2 separate regions of the Homo sapiens genome follow, and region 2 is linked to region 1. Evidence: promoter capture Hi-C in 16 types of primary human blood cells and fetal thymus (Javierre and others, 2016). All regions are on one chromosome and are shown on one strand. The core of a region is centred on a gene start or on the middle of the fragment in contact, and the rest is flanking DNA. Distances in the headings are between cores, read along the strand shown.

Evidence for each region. The method cuts DNA at HindIII sites, captures the fragments that hold promoters and counts their contacts. A CHiCAGO score of 5 or more calls a contact.
Region 2: a contact is called between a fragment that was not itself captured here and the fragment with the promoter of CHRDL2 in region 1, in 1 of 17 cell types (endothelial precursors). The highest score is 5.8, in endothelial precursors.

Annotation. Positions count from the first base shown.
Region 1 is chr11:74,728,178-74,733,425 of GRCh38, reverse strand. It overlaps CHRDL2 (chordin like 2), which reads left to right and starts at 2,000. Exons shown (of 11, transcript NM_001278473.3): 1 at 2,000-2,619. The coding sequence starts at 2,538. The HindIII fragment of the contact is 5,548 bases long and covers 518-5,248 here.
Region 2 is chr11:74,871,544-74,876,791 of GRCh38, reverse strand. The region is part of intron 10 of XRRA1 (X-ray radiation resistance associated 1); the gene reads left to right. Among named protein-coding and RNA genes, the nearest start is that of XRRA1, 75 kb to the left of the region's middle. The HindIII fragment of the contact is 1,732 bases long and covers 1,318-3,049 here.

The sequences.
Region 1 (5,248 bases), core at 751-3,250:
AGGTCAGGAGTTCAAGACCAGCTTGGCCAACATGGCGAAACCCCATCTCTACTAAAAATACAAAAATTATAGGTGGTGCATGCCTGTAATCCCAGCTACTCGGGAGGCTGAGGCAGAAGAATCGCTTGAACCCAGAGGCAGAGGTTGCAGTGAGCCCAGATCACGCCACTGCACTCCAGCCTGGGCGACAAGCGCAAAACTCCATCTCAAAAAAAAAAAAAAAAGGAATGAAGTTGGCCTCAACTCTGGGGATAATAGGGATGGACAGGAGGGCTGAGATGGTGGAGGCCTTTTTTGAAGTATGATGGGCAGGATGTAGGGGAACCCATCTTAATCCACTTCTTACATCTAAGACATGAATATATGTGCACAGCACATTTTAAACAAAGAGAAAGGAAAAGATCACTGTCCCAAACCCTTGGGATGAGATTGTTTATGCAATTAAGCAGCACAGGATTTAACTCTGAGATCCCTGGAAGCAAAGGCAAAAAGGGAAGCATGGTGACATGCATAAGCTTGCACTATCTGTTAAAATAAAGAATACTCAGGGGAAAGGAAGAGACTGGCCAGATTAGAGTAGAAATTAAGCCTGAAGGGCACTGGACAGATCATGTTTGTCCCTGATCCTGAGAGCCCTAGGAAGGGCCAGTTTGGGGATCACTGGTTCCTCCTACTGCTCTCTTTTGGAGGGTGGAGATCTTGGGGGTAATACCCTGAAAGCACAGTGCAATGGGGAGCCCAGCCTTGGCCCAGAAAGATACCTTTACAGCCAGCCAGCCAAGTGTTTAAACCCGGAAATATGATTCCCTACCAGAGTGGGATATGGCTCAACATCCCTTCCCACCTCATACTCCTCTGGCACTCTTTGGAGTCTCCATTAGCTCTTCAAGAGAAGCTGGGCAGAAAGTTGAGGTCCAAAGCAAGGATAGATGTATTTACTCAAAGTGGCCCAACAAGTTACGGATGGAGCCAGGACAGTGACTCTGCCCTTTTGATTTCAGAGCTTGTGTGTTTCTGGTCTGGCCAGAGCTGGCTATTCTCTTCTTAGTGTCCTATTAGTGCATGTGTTCATTCAACACAAGAGATGGAGCACCATTTGAGGGCTGGAGGGTGTCAGGGCCCTGTCCTCAGGGAGCTCCCCTTCTGGTGGGAAAGAAAACTCTTTGACAATCAGCTCTCCCTAAAGATGACTGAAGGTGACCATCACTCCCAGAGAAGTGCAGGCCTCACCTGCAAAGGCAAAGGAGAGATCTTGCCTTGATTCGGGAGTGGGAGCGGGGAGCAGAGGAAGACCTCCAGGGGAAGGCACAGGATCCCTATGGGCTGACTTTCCTGAGAATGGCGCATGGGCAGACGGAGTGGGGACAGGGGCCACTGGTATTGTAGGCACCTGGAATTAGGACCCCTTCTCTTTGTGGGGTGAGTGTTTCGACGTTCATTACCTTATTTCATCTTAGCAACACTCGTGGGAAGATAGTAGAGATATTTTAAGATCTTAAAATGCCCATTTTAAAGCTGGGAAAACAGACTCTCCGGTGGCGTGCTGTAGACCACAAACTGAATTAAGAACGCCAGTGTTCTGATTCCATCCATCTGCGGAGTTCCGGGCACGCACCGCCGAGCGCCTTACCCTGAGCCTTCCCGGTACCCGCAGCCCCGACAGCTCAGCCTTCCCCACCTGAAAGTTCCACCTGAGGTCTCCCTCAACTCTGCCCTCCTGCATTCTTGGCGTCGCGGGGAGTCAGGGGTTAAACCCCGTGGCCCGCGTGGCCCCTTCCCCCTCCGCAGCCCCCTCGCCTCCACTCGGCGCCGCGCCTGGAGCGTCCGTCCCGGAGACCCGCACAAGAGAGGAGGGGAAAAAGTGGGCCTGTTTCTCGGGTGGCCAATCCACCGAGCCCGCGGTGCCCCAGAGGAGGCGCCAGCGCTAGGCCAGCGCCAGGCCGGGCTGCCTGCTTCCCGCGGCAAAGTACAAATGCGCCCGAGCGCGGCGCCTGAAGCCCTTGGCGAGCACAGCCGGCCCGCGCTCAGCCTCCCTCCGCGGCCGCCGCGCCGCCGCCGCTGCTGGGACCGCCGCCCCGCCGGGCCCCAGGCCCCCGCGGCCCGACCCCGAGCCCACCGAGCAGGGGGCGCCGGCCGCCTCTAGCCCGCGCGCCCGCAACACCCGCTGGTCCCGCGCGCCTCGCCCGGCGCTGCGCGCTCGGCAGACGCCGGTCCTCTCCCTGCTTTCTCCTCCTCTCCCTCTCACCTTCCCCCTTTCTTTGATCGCCTCTCCCTTCTGCTGGACCTTCCTTCGTCTCTCCATCTCTCCCTCCTTTCCCCGCGTTCTCTTTCCACCTTTCTCTTCTTCCCACCTTAGACCTCCCTTCCTGCCCTCCTTTCCTGCCCACCGCTGCTTCCTGGCCCTTCTCCGACCCCGCTCTAGCAGCAGACCTCCTGGGGTCTGTGGGTTGATCTGTGGCCCCTGTGCCTCCGTGTCCTTTTCGTCTCCCTTCCTCCCGACTCCGCTCCCGGACCAGCGGCCTGACCCTGGGGAAAGGATGGTTCCCGAGGTGAGGGTCCTCTCCTCCTTGCTGGGACTCGCGCTGCTCTGGTTCCCCCTGGACTCCCACGCTCGAGCCCGTAAGTAGACCGGGAGGCTGGGTGGGCAGAGGAGGGATGCGGCCCCTGGAATGTGAGGGACAGCGCCAGGACCTGGACCCCAAGCTCTTCTGACAGCCGTCCAGGCAGCACCTGTGCCGGAGGGGTGGAGACTCCGTGAGGACCAGTATGGGCCGGGGGACCGGAGGAACTCGGCACAACTCAGAACTGAGAGAGGGCTGCTGCCAGGGACCTGAGGAGGGGCACCAAGGGCAGCGGGGGGAGAGGGCAGGGCACTGTGTTTTGGGTTGGGGGAGGACTTACTGTTCCTAGGAGGGAGTCGGGTATGTCTGGCTACAGGTAAGGAGTGTGATGGAGAAGAAAAGGCTTTTTGCCTTTGGAAAGAGCCATTGGACAGAAATGAGAGGTAATTAGGATAACCTTCCCATTCTTTTCTCTCTTTTGATCCTCGCAACTCTCCAGTGAGGTGGGTATTATCATTCGCACTTTACAGATGAGAAAACTTAGGCTGAGCAAGGAGGAACTTGCTAAAACTTACAGAGCGGGTAAGCCATCCAAAGCCAGAACTCTAGTTCCAGATCCCATGCTTTATTCCCTGCCTCACATTGTCTAGAAGGAACCCTGAATTTGCAGTGTGAGACTCTGGGAGGCGGCAGGGCACAGTGAGATAGACCAGCGTCTTCACCATCCCAGCCCCGCTGAATGCCAGCTGCTGGGAGGCCGTCACAGAGTGCACCTCTCTGACCCTGGGTTTCCTAATCTATAAAGCGGAAGTAAAAATCCTAGGAGAGTTGATAGGATTAAATTAGAGAAAAGAGGTAAAGCAGCTAGCACAAGACTGGTGCTTGATAGCTTCCAAAAAAAATCAGTTCCCAATTATGCTTTTCCACATAGATACAGTGTAACATCAAACAGGTTACATCATCAATCTGAGCCTCAGTTTCCTCACTGCGCCCACAATAGGCTGGTGGTCCCCCCTCCCCATGCCCAGCCAATCTCTTAGAATGCTGTGAGGATGGAAAACCAAACCACATTCTCTTAATCAGAAGAAAGGAGCTTCATTCAAGCAGTGGGTTTCTCCAGGACATACATGGCACAGCCTGGGATTAAGACCCTGCGTTCCCAACTCCTAGTCTGGTGCTCTTTCCTCTCCCCAGCTCAGCTCCTCCATCTATGCCTTTCTTTTGCACGTGACATTCTGGAGCTGGTAGTGCTGGACTTTGTTACGGTCTTGTTTCTGCTCATGAGAGCAGGCTGAGTGTCTCTGGCCTGCCAGCAGCATGAGACTCACATAAGTCTTTCCATTACATAGAACAAGTAATGGAATTAGCTCAGTGTTGTATTCAAATCCTGGCCGTGCCCCTTAGAGCTGTGTGACTTTTTGTAAGTCATAACTTCTCTGAGCCTCAATTTCCTAATCTGTCTAAGAGAGATACTAATCCAGAACTTGCAGGGTTCTTGGGAGGATTAAAGGAGGTAACGGATTAAAGTGCCCAGCACAATGCTGTGTACTTAATAAATGTCTCTTCCGCTTTCTTGAACCCTGAGGGTTTCCTCCTAACACCTGCCTCCTATTTCTTAAAAGAGACTTTGCACAGGATGCCCTCCATGCCTGCCTCCCATCCACTTGACACCTTGTTCTTAGTCCCTGCAATTTTTTCTCCAGATATCATTGCCCTTGATGCATCTTGGAAAGATGTCCTAGAACCAGACTGTTATCCTACCCACACCCTGCTTCTTTGCTTCCCATATCTTGTCAGCCTTTCATGGCCTTGCCTAGGTCACACCTCTTCAAGCAAACTCTCCCCGGTGACTTGATCCACTCTGATCTCCCTCGTCTGTGCCTCCCTGGCCTTCAGCTCTGTACCTCTCAGCAGGTCCTGCCAGTATTCCATCTTCCCTACAGCCTTGTAAATACAGATCTCCAGACATGTGAGAAAAAGACTTGGAGCCAACTCATTAGGGTGAGGTGGACTGGCACTCATTGGAGAATGTTAAGATTCCTGGATGTTAGAGCTGGTGAAACTATCAAAAACCATCTGCTTCTACCCATCAATATACCTATACTTAGAGTTAAATTGAAGCCCAGAAGAGAAGAGTGACTTGCCCAAGGTCACACAGCAAATTTATTAAAGAAAAGAACAAAAGCCAGGCACAGTGGTACACACCTGTAGTTCCAGTCACCAGCTACTTGGGAGGCTGAGAGGGAGAGGAACCCTTGAGCTCAGGAGTTCAAGGCTAGCCTGGGGAACATGGTGAGACCTCATCTCTTAAAAAACAACAACAACAACAACAACAAAAAACAGAACAGACCTGGGTCCTGGACCCTGATTTGTCACTTATTGGCTGTGTGAGTTGGGACAGACCACTTCTTTATCTGAGCCTCATTTTGTTTGGTGCTGACAGCCTATGAATCTAGAAAGGATCCTATAGTCATTTGCCAAGATGCTATTTGAAGGTCTCTTACAAAGGTCCTCATCTTAGTTTAAGTGAGATCTCAAGCCTGTTGTGGGTCAGAAATCTGGTGATATCTTAGGTGCTTTCAGAAACAGTGCTAACGGATGGAAATGTTCAAGTCTGTGTGGTATCAGGCTCCTGAGGTGTCGGAGCCCTGAAGAATGCCAAGGGCCTGTGAACACAGGTAACAGTT
Region 2 (5,248 bases), core at 934-3,433, 140 kb before region 1:
TCATTTACTTATCTTTTATGATTTTCAGCTTAAGATCTCCTATTTCTTCACATGGATATCCAGGACATTCCTCTGGGCTGTCTGGGGTTGCTCTCTCTCTCAGGTTTCCAGGCTTTGACTTGAGTGATGCATCCAGGAGTCCATTCCTGTGACTTTTATCGCTGAGGGGTTGAAAGAACAGTGTAGGGCCCTTCCTAACTTGGGCTTAGGTAGGGAGACAGAGGGCAGAGTCTTTATTAATACCACATATCCTGGGTTAAATAATGATGGTCCTATTTTGGGGGGTTGGGCTTCTGCTAGTTGTGTTAATTCCTGTTGGAAGTGAGCTAGGGAGGTTACATGCTTAACCAATTTAGAGGTGTCTTGGTCTAATAGAAAGTCACTTGTAAGGAAAGGCTGTTAATACAGCATTTAAAACGGGGTCAGACCTAACTTTGAAGGGGTATTTCTTACCCACAGTAAAGCCATGGGAAGAAGAGTGACCCAAGGAAGGTTAGTTTCTTGGAACAGTTTTCTGAGATGTCTTTTGATAATATCGTTTGTCTTCTCTACCTTTCCTGAGGACTGGGGTCTCCAAGCACAATGGAGATGATACTGTATGCCTAGTGCCTTTGTGACCCCTTATGTGACAGCTGTCTTAAGCAAGGGGCCATTGTGACCTTGAAGGCACTTAGGTAGACTAAAGTGGGGAGTTATTTCATTAAGTAACAAACACTTTTATTACCTTGGAGGCCTTTTCTGTACAGCATGGAAATGCTTCTATCCAGTTAGTGAAAGTATCTACCCATACCAGGATGTATTGGATGTCCTTCTTCTTTGGCACGTGGGTGAAGTCTATCTGCCAGTCCTTCCCTGGATGGCTTCCCATCCTTTAGGTTTGAGGAGGAAGGAGATGCCTGTTAAGGGGATTATTATTATTTTGAGACACAGTTTCACTCTGTTGCTCAGGCTTCAGTGTAGTGGTGTGATCTCAGCTCACTGCAACCTCCACCTCCTGTGTTAAAGCAATTATCGTGCCTCAGCCTCCCAAGTAACCGGGATTACAGGCGTGCACCACCACATCTGGTTAATTTCTTTGTATTATTAGTAGAGATGGGGTTTTGCAATGTTGGCCAGGCTGGTCTCGAACTCCTGATGTCAAGTGATCCACCCGCCAAAGTGCTGGGATTACAGGTGTGAGCCACCGTGCCCAGCCAAAGGGATTATTTTTAAGACAGACTTCACAAGCACTAACAAGCTGCTTGACTGTTATTAAGTTCTCTCCTGAAAAATCTCTGGGCACACTGATAAGTTTTATCCTTTCCCAAGTGAAAAGCTTGATGAAGGATCTTAAGGACTTTCCACTGGCGGGAGGCTGGCAAGTGGAGTTTGCCGTCCTCTTACTGTAGCCATCCTGAGAGCTGAAAAGTATACCCTTGAGAAGTGGCCCACTCTGCCTCTGCAGGGGAGTACTGAGACTTAATTTCTCTTATGGAGCCTTCCCAGATTAGAGGGGGCTTCAGGTGCATTGAGGCCCTGAGGCTGACTTGCTGCTGACTTGGCTGCCTCATCAGCTAACTTGTTTCCTTAGGCTACTTCATCTGCTCCCTTCTGATGTCCTACAATGCATCACTGCTACCTCTCGTGGAAGGAAAACTGAGGATAATAACTTGTTAATTTCCTGATGGTATTTTATAGGTTATCTTTAGTAGTAGGAAAGTGTCTTTCCTCCCAAATGGCAGCATGAGCATAAAGAACTAAGAAAGCATACTTGGATTCTGTGTAAATGTTAGCTACCTTTCCCTTGCTTAATTCAAGTGTTCTTGTAAGAGCTATCAGTTCAGCTAGTTGAATGCTTGTGCCTGGGGAGAGGGGTGCACTTTCAATGTCATTCAGAGTGTACATTGCATATCCCACCTTACAGACTCCTTGTTCCACAAAGGAACTTCCATTTGTGAAGAGCGTCCCATCTGGATTTTCTAGGGAAGTTTCCCTGAGAGCTTCCCTGGCTGCATAGGTCTGTACCACAACTTGTTCACAGTCATGTTCAGGTTCCTCAGTTTCCTTGGGGAGGAAAGTGGCTGAGTTTAGGCAAGAGCAAGTTTTTAACTGGATTGTAGACCCTTCTAATATCAGAGCCTGATATTTAGGGAGTCAGCTTTCTGTTAGCCAAGGGCATCCCTTAGAGGACAGCAATCGTGCTACATTATGTGGGGTATAAACAGTTAAGCTATTTCCCAGGGTTAATTTGGTGGCCTCTGGTATCAGTAGGGCCACTTTGGCAATGGCTCAGAGGCATGATAGCCATTCTTTAGCCACCAAATCAAGTTCCTTACTTAGGGAGCCCACTGGCTGTTGAGCTGGTCCTCGGGCTTGAGTTAAAACTCCCAGGGCCATTCCCTTCCTTTCTGATACAAAAGATTGAAGACCCTCCCTATGGGAAGGCTGAGGACTGGTACCTTAAGTAAGGCTTGTTTTAACTAATTAAAGGCCTTTTGAGCTTCAGGTTCTCAGGTTAGGAAATGAGTTTTAGCCACTTGAGTTTCTTTCTTTTTTTTTTTTTTTTTTTTTTTTTTTTTGAGACGGAGTCTTGCTGTCACCCAGGCTGGAGCGCAGTGGCGTGATCTCAGCTCACTGCAACCTCCACCTCCCGGGTTCATGCGATTCTCCTGTCTCAGCCTCCTGGGTAGCTGGGAATACAGGCGTGTGCCACCATGCCCAGCTAATTTTTGTATTTTTAGTAGAGACGGGGTTTCACCATGTTGGCCAGGATGGTCTTGATCTCTTGACTTCATGATCCGCCCACCTCGGCCTCCCAAAGTGCTGGGATTACAGGTGTGAGCCACCGTGCCTGGCCTTGAGTTTTTTTTATGAGGTGATATAGGGGGTAAACTATCTCACCATACCAAGATGAGTTTGCAGAATCCTGTAATGCCCCCAAATCCTCTTAGTTGCTTGAAGGTTTTAGGGAGGGGGAAGGAGGAAATTGGCTTACTCCTTTCTTCCCCTAATGCTCTGGTCCCTTCAGACAACACTACACCCAGGTACTTCACTGAGGTTTGGCAAAGCTTGATGTTAGATTTTGAAACCTTATATCTTCTGTTGGCTAAGAAATTAAGAAGAGCTTCACTGCCTTCCTGAGATGCTTCCTCAGTTGGGGCACAAAACAGTATGTCATCTACATATGGCAAGACCCTGACCTGAGGATGGGAAAACTCAGAGAGGTCCTTTGACAGTACCTGTCCAAACAAGTGGGGACTGTCTCAAAATCCCTGAGGCAGCACTGTCCATGTTAACTGGGCATCTGGCCAGAGGGATCTTCGAAGGCAAACAGGTATTGAGAGTCAGGATGTAACGCTATATAGAAAAAGGCATCCTTTAGATCTAGGACTGAACCATTTAGTTCCCTCAGGTATTTGGGTTAGCAAAGTATAGGGATTAGGGACCACTGGATGAGTTGGAACTATGGCCTTATTAATGATGTGGAGGATCTGATCTAGTCTCCATTCTCCATTGGGTTTTTGCACTCCTAATATTGGGGTGTTGCAGGGGCTGCTACAAGGTTCGAGGAGGCCCTGCATTTTCAGGTTATTAATAATGGCTTCTAGCCCCTTCCTAGCCTTGGCTTTAGGGGATATTGTCTCTGGTTAAGAAAAGCAGTGGGATCCTTAAGATGGATCTGAACTGGCCTATTTTTCCTTGAGTTGCTCACCCTTCTGGATTAATAATAGCTTCCACCTGGGGGAAACAAAGAGTTTGTCTTGGGGCTATAAGGATGCTGGCCCCCATGCAAGCTAAAATGTCTCTGCCTAATGAAGGAGTGGTACTTTCAGGCATGAGTAAGAAGGCATGAGTAAATAATAGGTCCTCCCAACTACAACTAAGGGGTTGAGAAAAATATCAGGTTAGAACTTTACCTGAGATGCCCATCATGGTCATGCTATGGGAAAAGGGGATTAGGGAGAAGAGGGATGCTGGTTCCAATGTCTAGAAGAAGGTCCACCTTCCTTCCTTCCTTCAATTTTCAGAATCACCTGGGGCTCCTGTGCAGTAATGACAGTTTCAGCTGCTGGAGCCAGGGGTCTGAACCCCAGGACCCAACAGTCCTGTTGGACCATCTGTGAGACTGGTTCTGAACCCAGTGACCTCCATCTCCAGGGGCAGTCTGATCTCCAGTGGTCCCAACCACTGGCTGGACATGGTTGGGGTGGCTTCTACTTGCTGCCTGGGCACTCCTTCTTAAAGTGCCCTGACTTGCCACACTGGTAGCAACTAATGGATACACCTTGGGGATCCTGGACTTTGCAAGTTTGCAAAGCAGCTACTAGAGCCTCTGCCTTCTCTCGCGTTTCCTCTCTTTCTCCAGGGCCGCCTTCTGGTCCCTATTATGAAAGACCAAGGTAACCACCCTCAAGTGGTTTTTCAAGGTGCTATCTGGTCCTATAGCCTGCTTCTACAGTTTCCTTCTAATATTGGGAGCTGCCAGTATAATAAACTTGTCCTTGAGGGTTAGCTGTCCCTTGACTGAGTAGGGGATAAGGAGGTGTGTTTTATTAGTGCTTCTCTCAGCCTTTCCATAAAGGCTGCAGGATTCTCATCTGGCTTTTGGTTTATCTTGGACAGTTTAGAGTAATGAAGAGGTTTGGCTCTCCTAGTTCTTTATAGGCCCTCCAATATGCACATTAATAAGTGTTTCCTTTTCCATTCATTTGTGGAGTCATCAGGGTTCCAAATCAGGGTTGTCAAGAGGTACTGCCTCTCTTCTCTACTGGGAATGATGGTTCCCCTATCTCTTCACCTTCCCTATTTTCTCTTTTCCTTTTTGGCCTACTGTAAGAAACATACTGCTTGTCTCCAAATTTCTCTGATGCATGCAGAGCTGCCTGCTTTTCAGCTGCGGTTAGGGTTTGGCTTAGGAGCAGCATAACATCTCTCCATGAGAGGTCAAACACCTGAGTTAAATTTTGGAAAGCTTCTTTATACCTATCGGAGTCATCAGAAAATCAGCCTAAGTATCCCTTTATTTGCCTAAGGTCATGCAATGAGACAGGAACTTGAACCCTAGTGGCATCACCTCCATTGGTCATTTCCTGCAGGGGTAAGAGTGAAGCTGGGGGAGTGGGGAATTTTGGAGATAGTGGAACTAGAGGAGCTGATGGCACAGTTGGAGGGGGCCCTAAATAAGGGGGACAGGAAGAGCCGGGACACTCAATAGCTGCCTGAAGTTGCTTTTTTAGTTTTGGGGAATCATTACCTTTTGGATTGCCTG